3 separate regions of the Homo sapiens genome follow, and regions 2 and 3 are each linked to region 1. The links are contacts of gene promoters, found by promoter capture Hi-C in blood cells and fetal thymus (Javierre and others, 2016). All regions are on one chromosome and are shown on one strand. Each heading gives the region's core, a stretch centred on a gene start or on the middle of the fragment in contact. The rest is flanking DNA. Distances are from core to core; before and after follow the strand shown. Region 1 holds the start of INHBE (inhibin subunit beta E). Region 2 overlaps KIF5A (kinesin family member 5A). Region 3 overlaps MBD6 (methyl-CpG binding domain protein 6).

Region 1 (3,032 bases), core at 145-2,644:
AGGAGGCTGAAGACGGCAGAATGGAAAGAGGCAGCAATGCCTGGGCTGCCAGCCAGGTGGGGAGGGCACTGCCCACTGCAGTAATTCAGCTGGTACCCCTCGGGCTGCAGTATCCAGTCCCGCCATCCCAGTTCCTGGAAGTCTACGTAATGGTCTCGCCTGCAACATAAGGGGGTCGCAGGCTCACAGGTGGGGGTCCTCCTCCTGGCCCGGCCTGCTCCAGGCTCATTGGCTCGGATCTTAAGCTCTAGGAAGGGCTGCTGGTGTCCTGCTGTGTCCAAGAGCCGCCTCGGTTGTCCAGTAACTGTGCTGTTGCCTTCTAGGGGTCTGCAGTCTAGTTGCAGTTTCAGGACACCAGACTTCTCACCCCTCAAGCCACTAGAGGGCAGAGTTAAGGTATGCCAGCCCAGGTTGGTGATGTGGTGCTCAGCCAGGAGAGTGCGGGACCCTTGGCGCCTCCTCCTTGGTCCCCATCGGAAGATCCTCAAGCAAAGAGTGCCAGGAAGGGTGGGGAGCACGTGCAGCCACAGGCGGGCATGGTACAGGTGGTGGGACCGAGGAGTGGACAGGTGAAAAGTGAGCAGGGAGCTGTAGGCTGAAGTGGAGTCTGCCCGAAAGACAGAAAAGGGAAAGAAAATGTGAGTAGAGATGAAGCTCTCCTCTGAGACTCCCCAAGCCCTGCCCACTGCTCTCCCTCGAACCTACCTCTAGAAAAGTAGAGACTGCTTTGTGTCCTCTGCAACCAGTCCCTGCCCCAGCTCCTCCTTCTCCTGCCACACCCCACTCCCTCTGCTGCTCCTGCCAGGCTCCCCTTCTGCCTCCCTTTCCCTGTCTGCTCTTTGCCTGTTGCTCTCTCCCTCACCCACCTGTGACAGTAGCAAAGCTGATGACCTCCTCCCCATTCCCTGGAGCCACACTCCCTGGCTGTAGTCTCCGGAGGGCTCTGGTCAGCGCTGCCTGGGGTGGAGGATGAGTTATTCTGGGACGACTGGTCAGGTGCAACCCATCCAGGATTTGCTGCTTGGCTAGCTCCAGCACCAGAGCTCGTTCTGCTTGGGGTGCCAGTTTGGAGCCCCCACAGGAGGGACACACAGACCCTGTCCCCTGTGCTCGCACCAGTGCCCACAGCAGCACCAGCCAGAGCTGGACATCAGGGAGCCGCATGCTCCTGGTGAATGGCCCTGGTTCAGGAGCCTCGGATGGCAGTTGCTCCGTCTGTTGAGTCTGATTGCTGGGGGCCAATGAGGGCACAGTGACAGCAGACACCACTGCCACACCTACCCTTGGCCAAGGGTACAGCCACCTGTCTTCTATTGTCTGGGACTCAGGAAGGCTGAAAGTAGATCATCTGATGGATAGCTGTGCTTGACCCTCACAGCTCATGTCTGGCTACTGACCTGGGGCCTCTTTAGAGCCAGCTGCCTGGGTCTTCCAAACCTAGTGGTCAGCCAGCCGACCTACCCTCTGAGTCCCAGGATTGGCCAGCTGTGCTGCCCATCAGGCCCCTGCAGGGGGTGGAGGTCCTCCTCCCCATCAGCTCAGGTTTCACCATCTGGCCATGGTGACTGGGCCTGAAGTAGGGGTATGGGGGTGGGGGGGTGCAATGTGGACACGCATGATGCAAGAAAGAGGATGATTTCACATGCTCAGTCCCCAAGGTCTGGGACTTGGGGGAGGGAACGCCTTATGAGCCAGGTGGGGAAGGGCAATTTTCCCTCATACCTCTAGTCTTTCTAGCTTCACCACTGCTGCAGCAGTTTCCATGAGGCAGCTGTGAGTTCCAGTGGGTATTCCTCTGGGGCCCTTAGGCCAGAAGGAAAATTCTGGTCTCTTTATTTCTAGCACTGGGGCTAGGACAGGGATGAGGGTTTGGGCGGGTAGGAGAATGGAGCCCTCTTGCTCAGGCCCAGGTGGCAGTGCCACGAGGCACAGAAGTCACCCCCTGACCCTGCCTGTGCTGGCCGCCCAGAGTCCAGTTGGCCTGGAGCATGATGTGGAGCATGATGTGGAGGAGGGCCAGAGCCGGCGGGGGTTGGGGCGGGGAACGTGTTCCTGTGATGTCTGGGGAAGCCCAGAGAGGTGGTGGTGGTGGTGATGCAATCTTACACAGGGCAGAGTCCATCAGGACTGTCAGGGGGCATGACACTTGGGAGGGCCTATACCCAGCTGCCACTTCTCTTTCAAGGGACTGTGAGAGTTGCCTAAATTTGGGGCATCCTAGAAGTAGTGCCAGGCCTCCTTTTTTTCTTACATTTTTAAAATTTAAATTTTATTTTATTTTACTGAGGTAAGGTCTCAATCTGTTGTTCAGGCTGGAGTGTAGTGGCACAATCATAGCTCACTGCAGCCTTGAATTCCTGGGCTCAGACAATCCTTCTGCCTCAGCCTCCTTAGTAGTTGGGACTACAGGTGCGCACCACCACACCTGGCTAATTTTTAAATTTCCCACAGAGACAGGGTCTCGCTATGTTGCCCAGGCTGGTCTTGAACTCCTGGGCTCAAGCAATCCACTTGCCTCAGCCTCCTAAAGTGCTGAGGTTACAGGCGTGAGCCACCGCACCACCCTTCAGGCCTGTTAATGGGGGTAGAAAATGGGAGCTCTAAGAGCTTTTGACAACAAAGCAAGGCAAATACAGCAGTCTTGGTTCCCAGTCTCAGCCCTCCTGACCACATTTTCTCACTGTCTTTATTTTATTTTATTTTATTTTATTTTTTGAGGCTGAGTCTCGCTCTGTCGCCCAGGCTGGAGTGCAGTGGCACAATCTCGGCTCACTGCAAGCTCCACCTCCCGGGTTCACACCATTCTTCTGCCTCAGCCTCCCGAGTCGCTGGGACTACAGGTGCCAGCCACCACGCCCGGCTAGTTTTTTGCATTTTTAGTAGAGACGGGGTTTCACTGTGTTAGCCAGGATGGTCTCCATCTCCCGACCTCATGATCTGCCCGCCTCGGCCTCCCAAAGTGCTGGGATTACAGGCATGAGCCACCGCACCTGACCTATTTTTTATTTTATTTTTTATGTTTTTGAGACAGG
Region 2 (3,032 bases), core at 344-2,843, 110 kb before region 1:
CGCAGCCAGGTGCAGTGGCTTATGCCTGTAATGCCAGCACACTGGGAGGCTGAGGTGGGCGGATCACCTGAGGTCAGGAGTTCGAGACTAGCCTGGCTAACATGGTGAAACCCCATCTCTACTAAAAATACAAAAATAAGTGGGCCTGGTGGCAGGCACCTATAATCCCATATGCTTGGGAGGCTGAGGCAGGAGAATCACTTGAACCCAGGAGGCAGAGGTTGCAGTGAGCCAAGATCATGCCATTGCACTACAGCCTGGGTGACAGAGTGAGAATCTGTCTCCAAAAACAAAAACAAACAAACAAAAAAAACCACTGTCTCTCTACTACACAGGCTGGAGTGCAGTGGCACTATCATGGCTCACTGCAACCTCAAACTCTTGAGCTCAAGCAATTCTCCCGCCTCAGCCTCCTGAGTAGCTGGGACTACAGGTGTGTGCCACCATGCCTGACAAAAATTTTTTTTTTTTTTTAAACAAGAGACTCAGCATAGTGGCTCATGCCTGTAATTCCAGCACTTTGGGAGGCTGAGGCAGGTGGATCACCTGAGGTCAGGAATTAGAGACCAGCCTGGCCAACATGGTGAAACCCCGTCTCTACTAAAAATACTAAAATCAGCCAGGCGTGGTGGCACATGCCTGTAGTCCCAGCTACTCGGGAGCCTGACGCAGGAGAATCGTTTGAACCCAGGACAGGGAGGTTGCAGTGACCCTAGGTCGAGCCACTGCACTCCAGCCTGGGCAACAGAGTGAGACTCTGTCTCCAAAAAAAAAAAAAAAAAAAATTAGATTAAATAAGAGAGACGGGTCTTGCTATGTTGGCCAGGCTGATCTTGAACTCCTCAAGTGATCCTCCCACCTCAGCCTTCTAAAGTGTTGGGATTACAGGCATTTCTTCCAGTAAACTTTGATTTGCAAATTAAATTGCATGCACACTGACCAATGACCTTTCAAGACAGTATCTTTTCTTTTCTTCTTTTTTTTTAAAGACAGGTTCTCACTCTGTCGCCCAGGCTGGAGTGCAGTGGCGCAATCTCGGCTCACCGCAACCTCTGCCTCCCAGGTTCAAGAGATTCTCCTGCTTCAGTGTCCCAAATAGCTGGGATTACAAGCATGTGCCACCACGCCCAGTTAATTTTTTGTATTTTTAGTAGAAACGGGGTTTCACTATATTGGCCAGGCTGGTCTTGAACTCCCGGCCTCAAGTGATCCACCCACCTCAGCCTCCCAAAGTGCTGGGATTACAGGTATGAGCCACCATGCCCAGCCAAGACAGTATCTTTTCTGATCCCCTAGACTCTCCCTGGCCCCTAGGCACATCTCATTCCTCCAGGATATCCACCCTCCAACTTCAGGGTCACTGACCTATGCTCCTCCCCCACCAACATTCTCAATACACTGGCCCCACATAGGTGCCCCACACCCACTCTCACCTTGACAAATGGCACCCGGTTCTTGTCCTCGTGCACGGACAGATTTGTCTTGGTCACTGAATCAAAAGAATGCAGGGTAAGCAAGACTAGTACTTCCACCGCCCCCATCTGCACCTTGCAGTCAGCTCAGATGGTGGTTTTCTTCTCTGTGCTAAAGGAAGACTCTCCCTGTGAAGCCTAAACTCCCTGCACGAGCTGAAGGCTCAGTTCCTCCTCCTTCTCCTCCTCAGGGCTCCTGCTCCTCGGCCCCAGATCCTCTCGAACTGTTTATATGTAGTCCTTGGCTGCTAAGCTCATCTCCTGACCTTCTCAGTTTTTGGAAATTCTGGTAAACGGGGCCAAAAGACTTGGGTGCTGTGTGCCCTCTGCATCTCTTGTCAATTGGTACCTAATTCCAAATGCAATGTGAGCTTTCTTTTCTCCACCCTCCTCACACACCCTCATCCACTGGGACAAAACACTCACCATCCAGAAGGTCACGAATTTTGTCCAGGTAAATTTCAAAGTAAGAAACCTGGTTAAGAAGAAAGAAGGAGTGTGAAGTAAAGAGGGCCTATCTTAAATCTAGTTCAGGAATCCCATACTAATGTGACCTGCTCAAACGGTGGTGGGAGGAAAAGAACAGAAGAGAACATCTTGACAAAGAACTCTGGTAACCGGAAAGGGAGTCAAGTTGGGGAGCCCAGGCTCTTCAGTGGGAAGATTTTAGATCTTCCCCTCCCAGTCCCCATCTGAATGCCCAGCTGTCGTGCCCTGGTCACCTTGATGTGGAACTCAAGGTTCTCATCCATGGAGTAGATGTGGTTGAAGATGTCTCGGGCAATTCGAGGAATGATTCCCATCAGCTGAGGGTCGTGCAGCTTTCCCTGGCGAGTGAAGGTATTTGAGAGTGAAGCTGGGGCTCAGGGAGAATGAGACAACTCAGATGTATGCAGGTGAACACCAAGGCAAGAGTCAATAAGAAGAACATCCTAAGTTAGGAGATGGTCACCACCATGTCTGCCTTTTAGAGGAGCAAGGAGATAATTGAGTAGCCCTTTGGACTTCCATTGCTTTTCCCGATCAAAAGAAGACTGGAGTAGTGGAAAGGATGATCCACTGCAGTGGGTTGGAGGGATTCCATTAAACTTCCCCTAATATTGCCCTTCAGTTCATCCTCTGTACTCATCTATCTGCCTCTGGACCAGGCAATCCTTGATTCCTAGACCTTCCCCCACTGAGATTCCCTGATCTTCCATTAACACTCCTAGCCCCTCAACCACCAAAGCCAGAACCCTCACCTCCATGGTATGTGTTTTCCCTGAGGATGTCTGTCCATAAGCAAAAATGGTGCCATTGTAGCCAGCAAGGACATCTGGAAGAGACAGTAGAGAAAGAGTACTGGTGGAGATAGGTCGGGTAGGAAATGGGGTGCTGAGAAGAGACATTCTAAAAAGAAATCTATTACCTTTGACAATCTGCATGGCACATGCATGATAAACTTGCTCTTGAGTCGTGTTTGGGGGGAATACACGGTCAAAAACATATGGCTTCCCCTGGAATGAAAATAAAAGATATCAGACGTCAACAGGCAGGATGTGAGGGAAAAGAAATACCACA
Region 3 (3,032 bases), core at 215-2,714, 71 kb before region 1:
CACTGAGGGGAGGCCTGGCAGGCTCTGGTTCGAGGGCTGAGGCAGGGCTCTCGGGGGGTAGACAGGGGGCTTCTGGCTGCTCTGGAGGGATCTGCTGGCAAAAAAATAAGTTCTCAGTCAATCTCAAATACCGTCCCTCTTCTACTATAACTCAGAAAGCCCTAAATTTCCAGTTTGAGAAAAAATTATCTCCCTGACAAATATATGCCCACACCCTCACCTGGAGACTCTGTAGCAGGCAGGCTAGGGGACTAGAAGCCTCTGAGAGGGGTGGAGGAGCTCCCCCCCCAGGGAGGAGCTGCAGCCCCAACTGGCCAGAGAGAAGAGGGCCAGGAGGCTGCAACAGGCTGGGGAGGGCTCCAGGGCTGCTGGTCAGTGAAGACAGGTCACCTGTTGAGAAATTATAGTCAGGGGTCTCTCCCTAGGCAAACCAATTAGGCTGAGCAGACCTACTATTCTCTTTAGGCTTTATCCAGTGGCCAAAGACTTTCTTCCCCAATTTATTCAGCCACTACTCCCAAGTTTTACTCCTGCTTTTTCACACCAAGAGTGTGAATTCACACTCCCTCAGACTCACCCAGCAGGCTGGCACCCAGCAGAGGGCTAAGGAGTTGGGGGGGTCTCCCTGAGTTGGAGGGGGCCTTGCCCAGAGAGGAGGCCCCCGGGTCAGTAGTTGCCGTGGTGACACTGGAGGTAGGTGGTCCAGGTTGGGGGGCACTCAGGACACAGGGCTAAGAAAAAAGAATGATTCTAACACTTACGCGTGTAAAATACTCAACAGATTTATAGTGCTTTCACATCCACTATCTGACTGAAGCCTCAAGTGAGATAGGCCATGCTTATTAAATACAGACCCAATTCTTGCAGTCATCCTACCCCCAGCCAAGAACTAAGGCCTCCCCAAAGGCCCCAAGGAAGAGCTCAGGAATGAAACTGAAAGCTTTTGATTCCCAGCTCCCATCTCTTATTCTACATCTTGTTCTGTCCCACCTACTCACCCCCATCCTCACCTGGGGGGGTGTCCCCGAGGGGGGATCCAGGGTGGCAGCCAGCAGCGCAGAATTTAAAGCTATGAGGGTAGGGGGGGCTGAAAGTGGGGGGAAAAGTAGGGGGGACAGGTCTCCCAAGCCTGAAAATGGCTCCCCACTTGGACCCCCGGCTCCCTCTGCAGATCCCTCCCCATCCCCAGCTGTGGGGCCCAGAGCCAACAGGGGCAGGAAAGAGGCAAGGAGGTTGCTGGGAGGTGCTGAAGGAGGTGGAAGAAGGTCTGAGGGTGGTGGAGGAAGCAAGGAAGCCACCAAAAGCGAAGGCCCTTCAGGCTCTCCTGGGGCTAGGGGAGGACCAGGTCCTCCTGGTGGGGGTAGCAGGGGCTCAGGGGGAGGTTGTCCTCCTCCCCCAGTCAGCACACCAAATAAACTGTGGTTGAGCAATGGAGAAGGTGGAGGCTGCCCCAGACTCAGAGGGAGAGGCAAGGCCCCAAGCATCCCAGGGAAGCCAGCTCCACTCAGTGCCAGGCCCTGCTCAGGGCTGGGGAAAGGGAAAGCCTCTCCACCAGCCAGGGGAGGCAGAGGGCAGGCCGGGCCTGCCCCCATCCCCAGTCCTTCGGATGGGCTTTGAAGCACAGGGCTGGGGACTACTGGGGCTTTGGAGGCAGCTGGTGGGGCAGGGGCACCTGTAAAAGAGGAGAGAAATTCAGCTCAAGGGAGGCCCTTTCTCCCATCATCCAAAGAAGCCAACCTCCCTGCCCCCAACCCAGAAAACCCTCAAAGAGCTCTCTGAACATTCCCCTAAATGCCTTGGCTGCCTCTTTCCAGCCAGGATGAGGAAGGGCTCCACAATACTCACATACCTGGCACACTGCTGAGGCTGCCACTGGTGGTCCCAGGCAGGGAGGGCTGGATGGGGTGCCTGGGCTGGGGAGGGCTCCCTGAGGAGAGGGTTGGGGGAGGAGGAAGGTGTGCATCTGACCCCAAAAGGTTAAAGCTTCCATCAGAGTGGGAAGGGCCAGGGGTGGGGAGTCCCAGCAGGGACAGCACAGAAGGGAGAATTGGTTGGGATGGCTCCGGGAGAGAAAAGGGTTGGGGGACAGGAGCAGGGGCCCGAGGACGGCTCCGTCTAGGGGTTTGAGGGCCTCTCCCTTCTAGCAATCGAAATACAGTAGGGGGTCTGCGGGGACGACGCTGAGAGGGACGAAGTGATGAGGAGTGGGAAGCTGAGGGTGCCTGGGCACGGGGCCTTCGGCCCTGTAAAGTGCTGGGAGGGGGTAGTGGGGGATGCTGTGCCTTGGCCGCTGCAGAGAGTAGGCTGCTAGCAAGGAAGGGGGGTGCCCCAGGCCCCTCCACCGTGGGGGCCCCTCCCAGGGGCCCCAGGACCAGGGGCAGGTGCATAGTGGCTGAAGACACTGGTGGCTGAGAGGCAGGACCAGGGTGGGCGGGGAGATTATTGCTCGGGGGCAGGGGAGGGGGTGTTAAGGCATCACTACAGTGGAAGAGAGGAGGGTCTGAAGGTGGTGAGGAGGAGGCATGAGGGGCCGGAGGAGAGCCCAGGTCAGAGGGCACCAGGCTGGATCTGAGGGCAGCTCCCCAGTTGTATGAGGGAGCATTGAGGCTGATAGCAGGTGGAGGAGGTGGGGCTGGAGAGGGGGCATTGCCCCTTGGGAGGAAACGGGGGCTGCTACTGCCCCCAGAAGGGACTGGGTCAGCAAGCCTTGGGGGGAAAAGCCCCCCAGGGCCTGCTAGAGTGGGAAAGGCCTGGGAAACTGAGGGTGGTTCTGGGGGAAGGGAGCCAGGACCCCCATTAAGTGGAGTTGTAGGAGGAACTCGACAGGGAGGGCGGGCAGAGGGGGGCCCTGGGGACACAGTGTGGAACATTTGGGGGCTCGCTCCCTCTCCTGCAATAAATGAAAAATGAAGGGTCAGCCTGTGGCTCCCCTTCCAAAAACTCTTTTGTCTTCTCTAGTCCCATCTCCCACAAGTTCCCAACCTCCCTGTGCCCTCCTTTCAACATGCAGCTCCCCACCCACTCCCCTTTCT

The links. Contacts are between HindIII fragments. The CHiCAGO score rates a contact against its expected background, and 5 or more counts as called.
Region 2: a contact is called between a fragment that was not itself captured here and the fragment with the promoter of INHBE in region 1, in 4 of 17 cell types (neutrophils, naive CD8 T cells, total CD8 T cells and 1 more). The highest score is 8.4, in neutrophils.
Region 3: a contact is called between a fragment that was not itself captured here and the fragment with the promoter of INHBE in region 1, in 4 of 17 cell types (naive CD4 T cells, neutrophils, total CD8 T cells and 1 more). The highest score is 5.7, in naive CD4 T cells.

What each region holds. Positions count from the first base shown.
Region 1 is chr12:57,453,669-57,456,700 of GRCh38, reverse strand. INHBE (inhibin subunit beta E) reads right to left here and starts at 1,394. Exons shown (of 2, transcript NM_031479.5): 1 at 867-1,394; 2 at 1-607. The coding sequence starts at 1,164. RefSeq lists an enhancer at 1,421-1,715. The HindIII fragment of the contact is 16,061 bases long and covers 1-3,032 here.
Region 2 is chr12:57,563,375-57,566,406 of GRCh38, reverse strand. KIF5A (kinesin family member 5A) reads right to left here. Exons shown (of 29, transcript NM_004984.4): 2 at 2,881-2,968; 3 at 2,714-2,787; 4 at 2,195-2,299; 5 at 1,899-1,947; 6 at 1,434-1,489. Among named protein-coding and RNA genes, the nearest start is that of KIF5A, 15 kb to the right of the region's middle. The HindIII fragment of the contact is 4,556 bases long and covers 1-3,032 here.
Region 3 is chr12:57,525,206-57,528,237 of GRCh38, reverse strand. MBD6 (methyl-CpG binding domain protein 6) reads right to left here. Exons shown (of 13, transcript NM_052897.4): 6 at 1,850-2,890; 7 at 1,011-1,672; 8 at 578-731; 9 at 221-390; 10 at 1-91. Among named protein-coding and RNA genes, the nearest start is that of MBD6, 3.9 kb to the right of the region's middle. The HindIII fragment of the contact is 1,043 bases long and covers 943-1,985 here.